Linked DNA regions of Homo sapiens: region 2 is linked to region 1. Evidence: promoter capture Hi-C in 16 types of primary human blood cells and fetal thymus (Javierre and others, 2016). All regions are on one chromosome and are shown on one strand. The core of a region is centred on a gene start or on the middle of the fragment in contact, and the rest is flanking DNA. Distances in the headings are between cores, read along the strand shown.

What was found. Contacts are between HindIII fragments. The CHiCAGO score rates a contact against its expected background, and 5 or more counts as called.
Region 2: a contact is called between the fragment with the promoter of SLAMF6 here and a fragment that was not itself captured in region 1, in 1 of 17 cell types (total B cells). The highest score is 5.4, in total B cells.

The regions. Positions count from the first base shown.
Region 1 is chr1:161,039,246-161,044,954 of GRCh38, reverse strand. USF1 (upstream transcription factor 1) reads left to right here. Exons shown (of 11, transcript NM_007122.5): 2 at 1,595-1,687; 3 at 2,073-2,122; 4 at 2,285-2,400; 5 at 2,738-2,839; 6 at 3,109-3,304; 7 at 3,544-3,631; 8 at 4,083-4,141; 9 at 4,285-4,379; 10 at 4,625-4,753; 11 at 4,946-5,704. The coding sequence starts at 1,680. The coding sequence ends at 5,035. Among named protein-coding and RNA genes, the nearest start is that of TSTD1, 3.1 kb to the right of the region's middle. RefSeq lists enhancers at 1-178, 3,039-3,198. The HindIII fragment of the contact is 2,818 bases long and covers 1-2,659 here.
Region 2 is chr1:160,519,971-160,526,100 of GRCh38, reverse strand. It overlaps SLAMF6 (SLAM family member 6), which reads left to right and starts at 2,846. Exons shown (of 8, transcript NM_001184714.2): 1 at 2,846-2,957. The coding sequence starts at 2,909. RefSeq lists an enhancer at 3,012-3,061. The HindIII fragment of the contact is 3,138 bases long and covers 80-3,217 here.

The DNA.
Region 1 (5,709 bases), core at 1-2,500:
TTTCCGAGGCTTATCCATTGAAAATTTTCCTTGGATAGGAAAGGTTTGGAGGACCTTATGGGTAGAGAATTTCCAAAAATCTTGCCCCTTTTGTGTTGGGATTATCTTATTGCTTTGTACTGTGTAGCTGTTTCTTTCTGGAGGCATGTCTGCCCAGCTCTTTGTTTTTCCTGCCCTCTGGCTGGGTGTCAGGGTCCTAAGGCAGAGCTTGTAGGTGGATTCTTCCCCCTTTGTCTCTTCTTCAGAACCCTGTTTTTTTTTTTTTTACCCCTTCTTGCTCAGGCTTAGTTGATTTGGAGTTGTCATAGCAACATTTTAGCAACAGTGTTGTTCTGCAGGAAGGCTTGATGAATAAAATAGAGAATGCTTGAAGAGGATCCACTTGGGCTTTAGGGTTTCTAACAGATTATATAAATCTGGATACCCCAAAACAAGAGTCCTGTCAGTAGAATGGGGCCCAAATGCCAAGTCTAGTCTTTGTGGTCAGGGATATTCTTCCAGTGGTAGTGGGCTTCAGATTTCCTCTTCCTAGGTTTGAAAACAGAAATGTCTTGATGGACAACATGTGGCTGAGAAACTGGAAGAAGCATCAGTGTCCATGACACTGTATTTTTTGATGGTGGGGCCAATACATGGCCCTTCCTGATTCCCATGAAGCTGCCATCATGGCAGGTCATAATAGCTTTAATGATCCATTTAGAGATGTGTTGTTGGCTGGGTGCGGTGGCTCATGCCTGTAATCCAAGCACTTTGGGAGGCCGAGGCAGGCGGATCACCTGAGGTCAGGAGTTCCAGACCAGCCTGGCCAATATGGTAAAACCCCATCTCTACTGAAAATACAAAAATTAGCTGGGCGTGGTGGTGGGCACCTATAATCCCAGCTATTCAGGAGGCTGAGGCAGGAGAATCACTTGAACCCAGGAGATGGAGGTTGTAAGCCGAGATTGTGCCACTGCACTCCAGCCTGGGTGACAGAGCAAGATTCTGTCTCAGAAAAAAAAAAAAAAAAAAGAAAGAAATGTGTTGTTTCGGCCAGGTGCAGTGGCTCACACCTGTAATCCCAGCACTTTGGGAGGCTGCCGAGGTGGACAGATCATGCTCTCAGGAGTTCGAGACCAGCCGGGCCAACATGGTGAAACCCCGTCTCTACTAAAAATACAAAAATTAGCCAGGCGTGGTGGTGTGCACCTGTAATCCCAGCTACTCCGGAGGCTGAGGCAGGAGAATCACTTGAACCTGGGAGGCAGAGGTTGCAGTGAGCTGAGATCGCGCCACTGCACTCCAGCCTGGGTGACAGAGAGAGACTCTGTCTCAAAAAAAAAAAAAAAAAAAAAGTGTTGTTTCTGTCTTCCAGTATAATTATCCACTCTCCACCAGGAGTTGGAGTGATAATGGAGGGATGGGGAACACTATTTGTAGCCTTGCTTTTTCAATCACTGTAGGCCAGTCCTCAACATCAGTATGGTGGAGGCTGATTGTCCCCTGCAGATGACTGGGTTATTTTCCTGGCTATGTGTTCATGGAACCTAAGTTCTAGAACCAGAGATACTGTTCTGTTTCCTAAACTCATTGCAAACTTCATGATTTCTACCAGGACTTAGCACTCAGGCCTGTGAATCAGGAGATACAAAGACCTCCAAAAAAGGACCAGTTCCTCGGATGTGCCCCCTCACAGAGAGATGAAGGGGTGAGTGAAGAAGAGGTAGGGTCTGGGATGAAAGATGGGTGGCCTGGAAGAATGCAAAATGACCAAGAGCACTGCCTCTGGAGTCAGGCAGACCTGGATTCAGGTTCTACTCTATCACTTACTGTGTGATTTGGTTTCTCTATCTATAAAATGGAAGTAGTGCTATCTATCTCGTGGTGCTGTTTTTAGTACTAAATAAGATTACATGTAATGTACTTAGCTTAGTGCTTATGTACATAGTAAACAGTAAACACTAGTTGTTATTCTAACCTAACCCAGCTTCTGTTGGGAATGCCAATGAGTTTGCAGCCATATGTTACTGGGCCAGTGAGCTTCTCATTGACTTCTTCTCATACTCTTCCTTTTGTCCTTTCACCACAAACAGGCAGCAGAAAACAGCTGAAACGGAAGAGGGGACAGTGCAGATTCAGGAAGGTGAGTGCTAGAAACAGAACCAAGACTAAGAACCCATCATGGCCTCCCTTCCTTCCCCACCAGACCATCTCCTGTGCATCCTCCTCCTTCCGTGACATGCAAATGGAACGGGGGTAGAAAGGCAGTTAACTCACAGACTTTTCCTTTGTTCTTTTAATTCAGGTGCAGTGGCTACTGGGGAAGACCCAACCAGTGTGGCTATTGCCAGCATCCAGTCAGCTGCCACCTTCCCTGACCCCAACGTCAAGTACGTCTTCCGAACTGAGAATGGGGGCCAGGTAAGGGAGGGGGCCAGGTGGCTGCAGGTGTTATCTGGGGTTGGGATTGAGGGAGGTAATTGAACATGTCTTGGGGAGACCTGGCTTGGAGGATGAGTTGAAAGAGTGGACTGTTGCAGGGGAGGGAGGTGCTAATACTGGAGTAGAGACTGGTGTGAGGTTAGATGTATGCTGAAACCTCTGTGTGGGGAAAGAAGGGAGAATGGCTGAATCCATGTCTCTGAAGGACTTTGTTTTGGGGCCCTATCCAAGGGAAGCTTTATGAGGGGCCCTAGGATTCCCAACACTTAATCTTTTCTTCTCTCTTCACTCCCTCTGCCTTCCTCTACACTTCTAGGTGATGTACAGGGTGATCCAGGTGTCTGAGGGGCAGCTGGATGGCCAAACTGAGGGAACTGGCGCCATCAGTGGCTACCCTGCCACTCAATCCATGACCCAGGTACAGGGTATGGGCTGGGGAGGTCACTAGAGTTCTGAGAAGTAAGATGAAGAAGGGAATCAGTAGGATGGGGGTGAAGCTAGGAACAGTGAGGCATCTAAGGCTGCCTTGTCCCAAAGCACTAGGCTCTCCTTTTCTGGATGTTTCTCTCTCTCTCTCTCTCTCTCTCCACCCTACCTACCACCCCAACGGATAGAAGCTGCAGAGTGGTGTAGTGGGAAGAAGTTTTTGACTGTTACCAGAATCAGTTTTCTTGCTCCCCTTCCCAGGCGGTGATCCAGGGTGCTTTCACCAGTGATGATGCAGTTGACACGGAGGGGACAGCTGCTGAGACGCACTATACTTACTTCCCCAGCACGGCAGTGGGAGATGGGGCAGGGGGTACCACATCGGGGAGTACAGCTGCTGTTGTTACTACCCAGGGCTCAGAGGCACTGCTGGGGCAGGCGACCCCTCCTGGCACTGGTGAGATATTGCATGAGGATGCTGGCTGAAAGGGCTAGAATAGGCTGTGGGACATGACTGGTAGGCAGTGAGCCTTCACTCATGACTCTTAGTGATCATTAAGACCTGGACAGGCAGTGAGTCTGGGGCTGCTCTTCTATTAGCATGTTCTTTTTAGAGGAGGGGACCAGGGTCTTCACCTCAGGGCTTGGTGAGGTTCCTACCCATGTCCTGACAGAACCTACCCTGCATCTTCACAGGTCAATTCTTTGTGATGATGTCACCACAAGAAGTACTGCAGGGAGGAAGCCAGCGCTCAATTGCCCCTAGGACTCACCCTTATTCCCCGTGAGTGACCCTTGTTTCTTCTCAGATTCCGTAAGTGGTTTTTTTTTTTTTTTTTTTTTTTTGAGACAGAGTCTTGCTCTGTCACCCAGGCTGGAGTGCAGTGGCATGATCTCAGCTCACTGCAACCTCTGCTTCCAGGGTTCAAGCGTTTCTCATGCCTCAGCCTCCTGAGTAGCTGGAACTACAGACATGTACCACCACCCCTGGCTAATTTTTGTATCTTTAGTAGAGACAGGGTTTCACCATGTTGGCCAGGCTGGTCTCGAACTCCTGACCTCAAGTGATCCGCCTGCCTCGGCCTCCCAAAGTGCTGGGATTACAGGTGTGAGACACCACACCTAGCTACCATAAGTGGTCCTAATACCTGCTAAATCTTGTATAATTCCTTAACCCCAAACTTCAATCATGTATTTTGTCTTCTTACTCTGGCCACCCTGGGCTCTGTTGTCAGGAAGTCAGAAGCTCCCCGGACGACTCGGGATGAGAAACGCAGGGCTCAGCATAATGAAGGTAGGTATGATCTGGGTGGAGCTAGAAGCTGTCTGGTGTGATCTCAGCAGTGATGTCTGAGGGGAGGAGGGATTAGGTAATTTTACCCTGGGACTTGTGGCGAGTTTTCACTGAGTCACCTTGTCCTCCACTTTGCCCCACAGTGGAGCGTCGCCGCCGAGACAAGATCAACAACTGGATCGTGCAGCTCTCCAAGATAATCCCAGACTGCTCTATGGAGAGCACCAAGTCTGGCCAGGTCATGGAAAGACCCTGGTAGTGGGCAGGATGCCTGAATTCTGCCTCCTGGTATTGTTTCCAGAAATGGTAGAGAGAGGGGCACACATGACAGTAGTCTTATCTCTCCCTGAGGTTCCTGTATCCCTGGGAGATATTATACCACCTTCCTTAGATGAAAATGAGGTCCAAAGTGTGAACCTACTTTTGGAAAGCAAGCTGGGTATCTGAAATCCTAGTTCTCATTTTGTTGACCTTATCTTGCAGAGTAAAGGTGGGATTCTATCCAAAGCTTGTGATTATATCCAGGAGCTTCGGCAGAGTAACCACCGCTTGTCTGAAGAACTGCAGGGACTTGACCAACTGCAGCTGGACAATGACGTGCTTCGACAACAGGTCAGACTCCTACCCCCAGTGCAGCCCTTCTCAGTTCTGCTAGCCACTGACCCAGTTTGACACCCTCTACTTTGTTCTCCATGGAGAAGGCTTCATCTTTTCCCCCTCACCAGTGGATGTCTGAATACATTCAGGGGCTTGGAAGTGCCAGCTTTACTACCCATTCCCTTTACTGCCTCCTTCCCATGTCAGGTGGAAGATCTTAAAAACAAGAATCTGCTGCTTCGAGCTCAGTTGCGGCACCACGGATTAGAGGTCGTCATCAAGAATGACAGCAACTAACTATGGGGATTCAGGGGCTTTGGGCCCAAGAACTGCAGATAGCCCAGGAGCAACAGCCTAATCCCGTGCCCCTTTCCTTCACTGCCCCACTTCTGGCATGGGACAGGGGGAAGTTCAGAAGGTGTGTCCTTGAACTGAGGCCCTGTGATATGGCGGCCTGCAGTGGTGTGAAACACACAATGTGGACGTGCACTGACAGCCTTGCCCACCCCCACCATGCAGCCCCTGGGCCCTTGTGCTCCTCTCGCACAATGCATGTGCTGTCTCCATGCTGGATACTGGACACACTAAACTCTGGGGCTTGTCCTGTGCTTGCTTAGAGTGCCCAGCAGAGGTTTGCTGACAGGTGATGCTCTGGCTTGCCCCAGGACTCTGGCACTTCCATTGGTTCTTCCTTTCCCTGGAGCTGAGGTTTAGATGTGCAACCTGTGGCTCAGGGGAGCAAGCTTACACAAGAAGTGAGGGAAGGATGTTTAGCAGTGGCTGGTGCCCATGAAGAGGAGATTGGCCAGTGAGAAGCTGAGGCCTATGCAGACATCTCTGGAGCCAGAGAGAACAACAGGCAGGGGCCCACTTGGGGCCTTCCCCCTTGTGGGGGTCGTTTTTTTTTTTTCTTTTCTTTTTTTTTTTTTTTTTTTTTTTTTTTTAAGATAAAATTGTTCAAAGCCACAGTT
Region 2 (6,130 bases), core at 1,597-4,096, 520 kb after region 1:
TGAGCCAAGATTGTTCCACTGCACTCTGGCCTGGGCGACAGAGCAAGACTCCACCTCAAAAAAAAAAAAAAAAAAAGCTTATCCACCACAATCAAGTTGGCTTCATCCCTGGTATGCAAGGTTGGTTCAACATATGCAAATCAATAAATGTAATTCATCACATAAACAGAACCAATGACAAAAACCACATGATTATCTCAATAGATGTAGAAAAGGCCTTTGATAAAATTCAACATCCCTTCATGTTAAAAACTCTTAATAAACTAGGTACTGATGGAACGTATCTCAAAATAATGAGAGCTATTTATGACAAACCCACAGCCATTATCATACTGAATGGGCAAAATCTGGAAGCATTCCCTTTGAAAACTAGCACAAGGATGCCCTCTCTCACCACTCCTATTCAACATAATATTGAAAGTTCTGACCAGGGCAATCAGGCAAGAGAAAGAAGTAAAGGGTATTCAGATAAGAAGAGAGGAAATCAAATAGTCTCTGTTTGCAGATGACATGATTGTATATTTAGAAAACTCCATTGTCTTAGCCCAAAATCTCCTTAAGCTGATAAGCAGCTTCAGCAGTCTCAGGATACAAAATCAATGTGCAAAAATCACAAGCATTCCTATACACCAAAAATAGACAAACAGAGAGCCAAGTCGTGAGTGAACTGCCATTCACAATTGCTACAAAGAGAATATAATACCTAGGAATACAACTTACAAGGGATGTGAAGGACCTCTTCAAGGAGAACTACAAACCACTGCTCAAGGAAATAAGAAAGTACACAAACAAATGGAAAACCATTCCATGCTCATAGATAGGAAGAATCAATATCATGAAAATGGCCATATTGCCCAAAGTAATTTATAGGTTCAATGCTATTTCCATCAAACTACTATTGACTTTCTTCACAGAATTAGAAAAAACTACTTTAAATTTCATACAGAACCAAAAACGAGCCCATATAGCCAAGACAATTGTAAGCCAAAAGAACAAAGCTGGAGGCAGCACGCTAACTGACTTCAAACTATACTACAAGGCTGCAGTAACCAAAACAGCATGGTACTGGTACCAAAACAGATATATAGACCAATGGAGCAGAACAGAGGCCTCAGAAATAACATCACACATCTACAACCATCTGATCTTTGACAAACCTAACAAAAACAAGCAATGGGGAAAGGATTCCCTATTTAATAAATGGTGTTGGGAAAACTGGCTAGCAATTATGCAGAAAACTGAAACTGGTTCCCTTCCTTATACCTTACACAAAAATTAACTCAAGATGGATTAAAGACTTAAATGTTAGACCTAAAACCACAAAAACCCCAGAAGAAAACCTAGGCAATACCATTCAGGACAAAGGCATGGGCAAAGACTTCAATACTAAAACATCAAAATCAATGGCAACAAAAGCCAAAATTGACAAATGGGACCTAATTAAACTAAAGAGCTTCTGCACAGCAAAAGAAACTATCATCAGAGTGAACAGGGAACCTACAGAATGGGAGAAAATTTTTGCAGTCTATCCATTTGACAAAAGGCTAATATCCAGAATCTACAAAGAACTCAAACAAATTTACAAGAAAAAAAAAAAAACCCCAACAAAAAGTGGGCAAAGGATATGAAGACACTTCTCAAAAGAAGACATTTATGCGGCCAAGAAACATATGAAAAAAGCTCATCATCACTGGTCATTAGAGAAATGCAAATCAAAACTACAATGAGATACCATCTCATGCCAGTTAGAATGGCAATCATTAAAAAATCAGGAAACAACAGATGCTGGAGAGGATGTAGAGAAATGGGAATGTTTTCACACTGTTGGTGGGAGTGTAAACTAGTTCAACCATTGTGGAATACAGTGTGGCGATTCCTCAAGGATCTAGAACTAGAAATACCATTTGACCCAGCAATCCCATTACTGGTTATATACCCAAAGGATTATAAATCATGCTGCTATAAAGACACATGCACACTTATGTTTATTGCAGCACTGTTCACAATAGCAAAGACTTGGAACCAACCCAAATGCCCATCAATGATACACTGGATAAAGAAAATGTGGCATATATATACCATGGAATACCATGCAGCCATAAAAAAGGATGAGTTCATGTCCTTTGCAGGGACATGGATGAAGCTGGAAACCATCATTCTCAGCAAACTAACACAAGAACAGAAAGCCAAACAACGCATGTTCTCACTCATAGGTGGGAACTGAACAATGAGAACACATGGACACAGGTAGGGGAACATCATACACTGGGGTATGTCACGGGGTGGGGGGCAAGGGGAGGGATAGCATTAGGAGAAATATCTAATGTAGATGACAAGTTAATAGGTGCAGCACACCAACATGGCATATGTATACATATGTAACAAACCTGCACATTGTGCACATGTACCCTAGAACTTAAAGTATAATTTTAAAAAATCAGTTTTCTTTTGGCTTTTTCTTAGCTTTATACTTAAATATTTTTTTCTAATGTAATTAGAGTGGAATTGTTTTTTGAATTTTATTTTTGGATTACTCATAGCTAGTATATACAATTGCAATTGAATTTTATATTTTGATTTTGTATCTTTTCACCTTGCTGAACTCATTTATTTGTTCTAGTAGATTTTAGGAAATTCCTTACAGACTTTTACATATAAGTTTATGAAAGATGCAATAAAGGACTTTATCTTCTTTTCCAAAAAAAAAAAAAATTTGTGCACTTAGCTCAGAAAAAAGTAAACAAAAAATTAACACAGTTACAAATTAGGATTTTTAGTGCAGGGGAAGAAGTTGTCACCACGCCTCTAAGAGGAAGGGGAAGTCTCAGAAGTATTTTCAGTTTATGACAGAAGGGCAAAAACATTGACTGCCTCAAGGTCTCAAGCACCAGTCTTCACCGCGGAAAGCATGTTGTGGCTGTTCCAATCGCTCCTGTTTGTCTTCTGCTTTGGCCCAGGTAAATGTCAATCCAGATCGGTGTAGTCACTGAGTGACTCCCTGGTTTTGTGCAGCTTGCTCAACCTAAATCGTCTGTATACAGTTGTCTGGCTCTCTGCCAAGGGATTGGGGCGGGAAAGGGGACGCTGGCAGTGTTACCTGATATACTACTACCTCCTCTCAACTTTGGATGCGATAAGCCTGAGATGGTTGTCGGTGAACAATTTCAATTGTGTCTGCATGTAAGAAAGTTATTTGCTGGGGCAGAGGAAATAAGCTTTTGAAGACAAGACTGTTTGTGGTTTATGACCAGCATCTTGTGTTATAAAGAGTACCAAGACCAAGAAAATGGGCCCTCATACCAATGTATCTACTATCGTACTGTGAACCTCAGGGAGGTTACTTATCCTTCCTGAACCTCACTATCCTCATCTAAATTATTAAAAACCTATTATTCAGTTGAGCCAAATTTTCTGGGCCCAACCAAACACACCAAAAATAACCCTCTCACCTTTTGCTCATTGCAAAAAAAAAGGTTTCCATCTCTCCCCTCCTTTAGTGCAAATTAGGGCTAGCTAGTCCAGCAATGCATTATATATGGCAGTGAGAAAAGAATGAACTGATCCAGCTGGCTTCTTGTTTCCTGCTGTCCATTATATGGAGAAGATGAAGATTCATATCACATTTGGGGAACTACAAGTGGTCCACGGGAGACAAAGTGTAGCATTCAGGCAGAGATAGTCCAGGAGACCAATGGAAATCTAGTCCAGAGCTAGCCCAGGGTAGCAGATAAAAGTAGGAAGCATTCACTGAGCACTTATTGTATTTCAAGTATTGTGCCAGGTGCTGTACACACGTTATGAGTCTCATGAGAATTCTATGAATTTATACTATTAATATCTCCATTTTAAAATGAAGAACTGAGGTGAACTTAATTTAAATAATTTGCCCAAATTTCATTAGCCAGCATGCGACAAGCTCTTGTAATAGTTATGAGAAAAAATAACAGTTCAACAAGTGTGGCAGCAGCATAAGAGAAAGAAGAGACTGAAGCAAGAGATCCCATCAATATGGAGTTAAGTAGAGTAATTGGTAATTGGAATGAGAAAGGAATAAATATTCATTGAGCACCTACTGAATGCTTGGCACTCTTCTAGTTTGCATGAATACATCATGAACAAAGCAAGCAAAAATTCCTGCCCTCATGGAGTTAACATTTTAGCAGGAGACAAACTGTAAAAAAAGATAAACAAGTAAAATAGTGTATTGGGTAGGAAGAAATAAATCAAGAAGGAAAGGGAGAGATGAAATATGGTAAAGACGGCAGTGAAATTTCAGACAGGATAGCCAAAGAAAGTGACAAAATTGGAAGGTGGAGAGCAGCCACAGGAGGAAGGTGAGTTCAATTTTGGACCTACTGATTTTAGGATGTCAGTGTGCTATACATGAGGAAGTTACGTGGAGGATCCTGGGAACTTAGGACTAGGGGTAGAGCTGAGGCTAGAGACTTAAAAATCAATGGCATAGAGATATGTTAAGCTGAGGAGAAAACTGGAATGAGAACAGAACTTTGGGAAATATATATAAAATGCAGAAAGAGAGAGAATTCTTTCCTTCATTCAAGAGCCACTTCCTGATCTAGGAGCAGAATCTTGAGTTTTTGCTTCATTTTTACCACCCTGCAAAATTATTTCCACCTCTAGAATAAAATATTCTGAATGTCCTTGTGTTAAAACTCCTCTTCTTCTCCCTATTTCCATGAATACTTCTTATAATGACCCTATGAAATATACAGTGCTCCAATCTCCACTTCACAGATGGGGAAAGAAGGCACAGAACACTAAAGTAACTTGCTCACTGCCCCACATTTATGGGGGAAATGGGTATAGAAAGAGAAACACATTTGAATGAGTTTACAGGAGGCAGATGCAGGTGTTCTGAGACCCAGGAGGAGAGAAGTGGCTGCTAGAATTGGAAATCAGGAAGCTTGGCTCCGGAGTCTGTGCTCATAGCCACTTCACTATGCTACTTAGCTTACACACAGTCATACATTCACACAAATGTGTACATAATTAGAAAATGTGAGGCCAGCAAAAAAAATAAGCAGGGCACCTTCATAGAGAAAAACACGGGGACCTGCTTTGGACGGAGTGATGAAGAAAGGACTTCCTGGAAAAGTAACATCTCATCTGATATTTAAAGGGTGTGAAAAGTTAAACAGGAAAAGTCAAATGAAGAAGATTTTAGGGCAGAGGGAATCATGTGTGAAAAGCCGTGATGCAGGAAAGAGCCTGGAGTGATTTAGGAAGGGAAAGAAGACCACTGTTGCAAAAATGTGGGGCAAATGAAATTAATCTTTGAAACAACCATGAAAAACAATGACTCATGCCAGCCTACATTCTTTGAAGTGGGTTGGGCACTATCCTGACTCCTTTTAGAAAATTTAGTGGAAAAGACAAACCATATTGAAAAATAATCCCATTTCCTTTAACTCAAGCCCTGGGTGGCAAAACTAACAGAACAAAACAATAATTGTAAATAAAATCAAGCATCATGACTTCCTAGAGAAAATAAATCTCGTTTGTTTCTTCATTTTGATTTTTATAGATGGAAAGTTGGAAATTTGTCAAACTTAAATGTGCATATAAATTACTTGGGGGAATCTTATTAAAATGCTGATTGGGGAATAGGGACTGAGATTCTGCATTTCTAAGAGGCTCCCAGGTGACACCAATGCTGCCTGTCCATGGACCACACTAAGCAGCAAGGTTCTAAATTCCAATGGACTTCAGTCATACTGGGATTGTAGGGAGGAAGAAATAGAAACTAACTTTGAGTGTGTTTGCAGGAAGCAGATATAGGTATTCTGAGGTCCAGGAGAGAGCAGTGGTTGGAAATGTAAGTAAAGCAAACACATGAGGGCTGATTCTGAGGTTGAGTCAAAATGTGCAATGCTCTTCTGTGAAGAGATTGTGACCTGATGGCCCCCGAGCAGTGTTATCTACTTTTTACCAACCGTCCACATCTTTCAAATGTTTATTGTGCTCAACAGGCAGAGAGCTGTTTTATATTTTTTCATTATCCTCAGACACGTGTTTTTCCACCTCTCAGAATCTGCAATCTCCAATGTGACCTCCAGGTGTTCATGCCTCTGTTTTTGGTCCCTTAACCCAGATTCAGCTTTGATTGTTT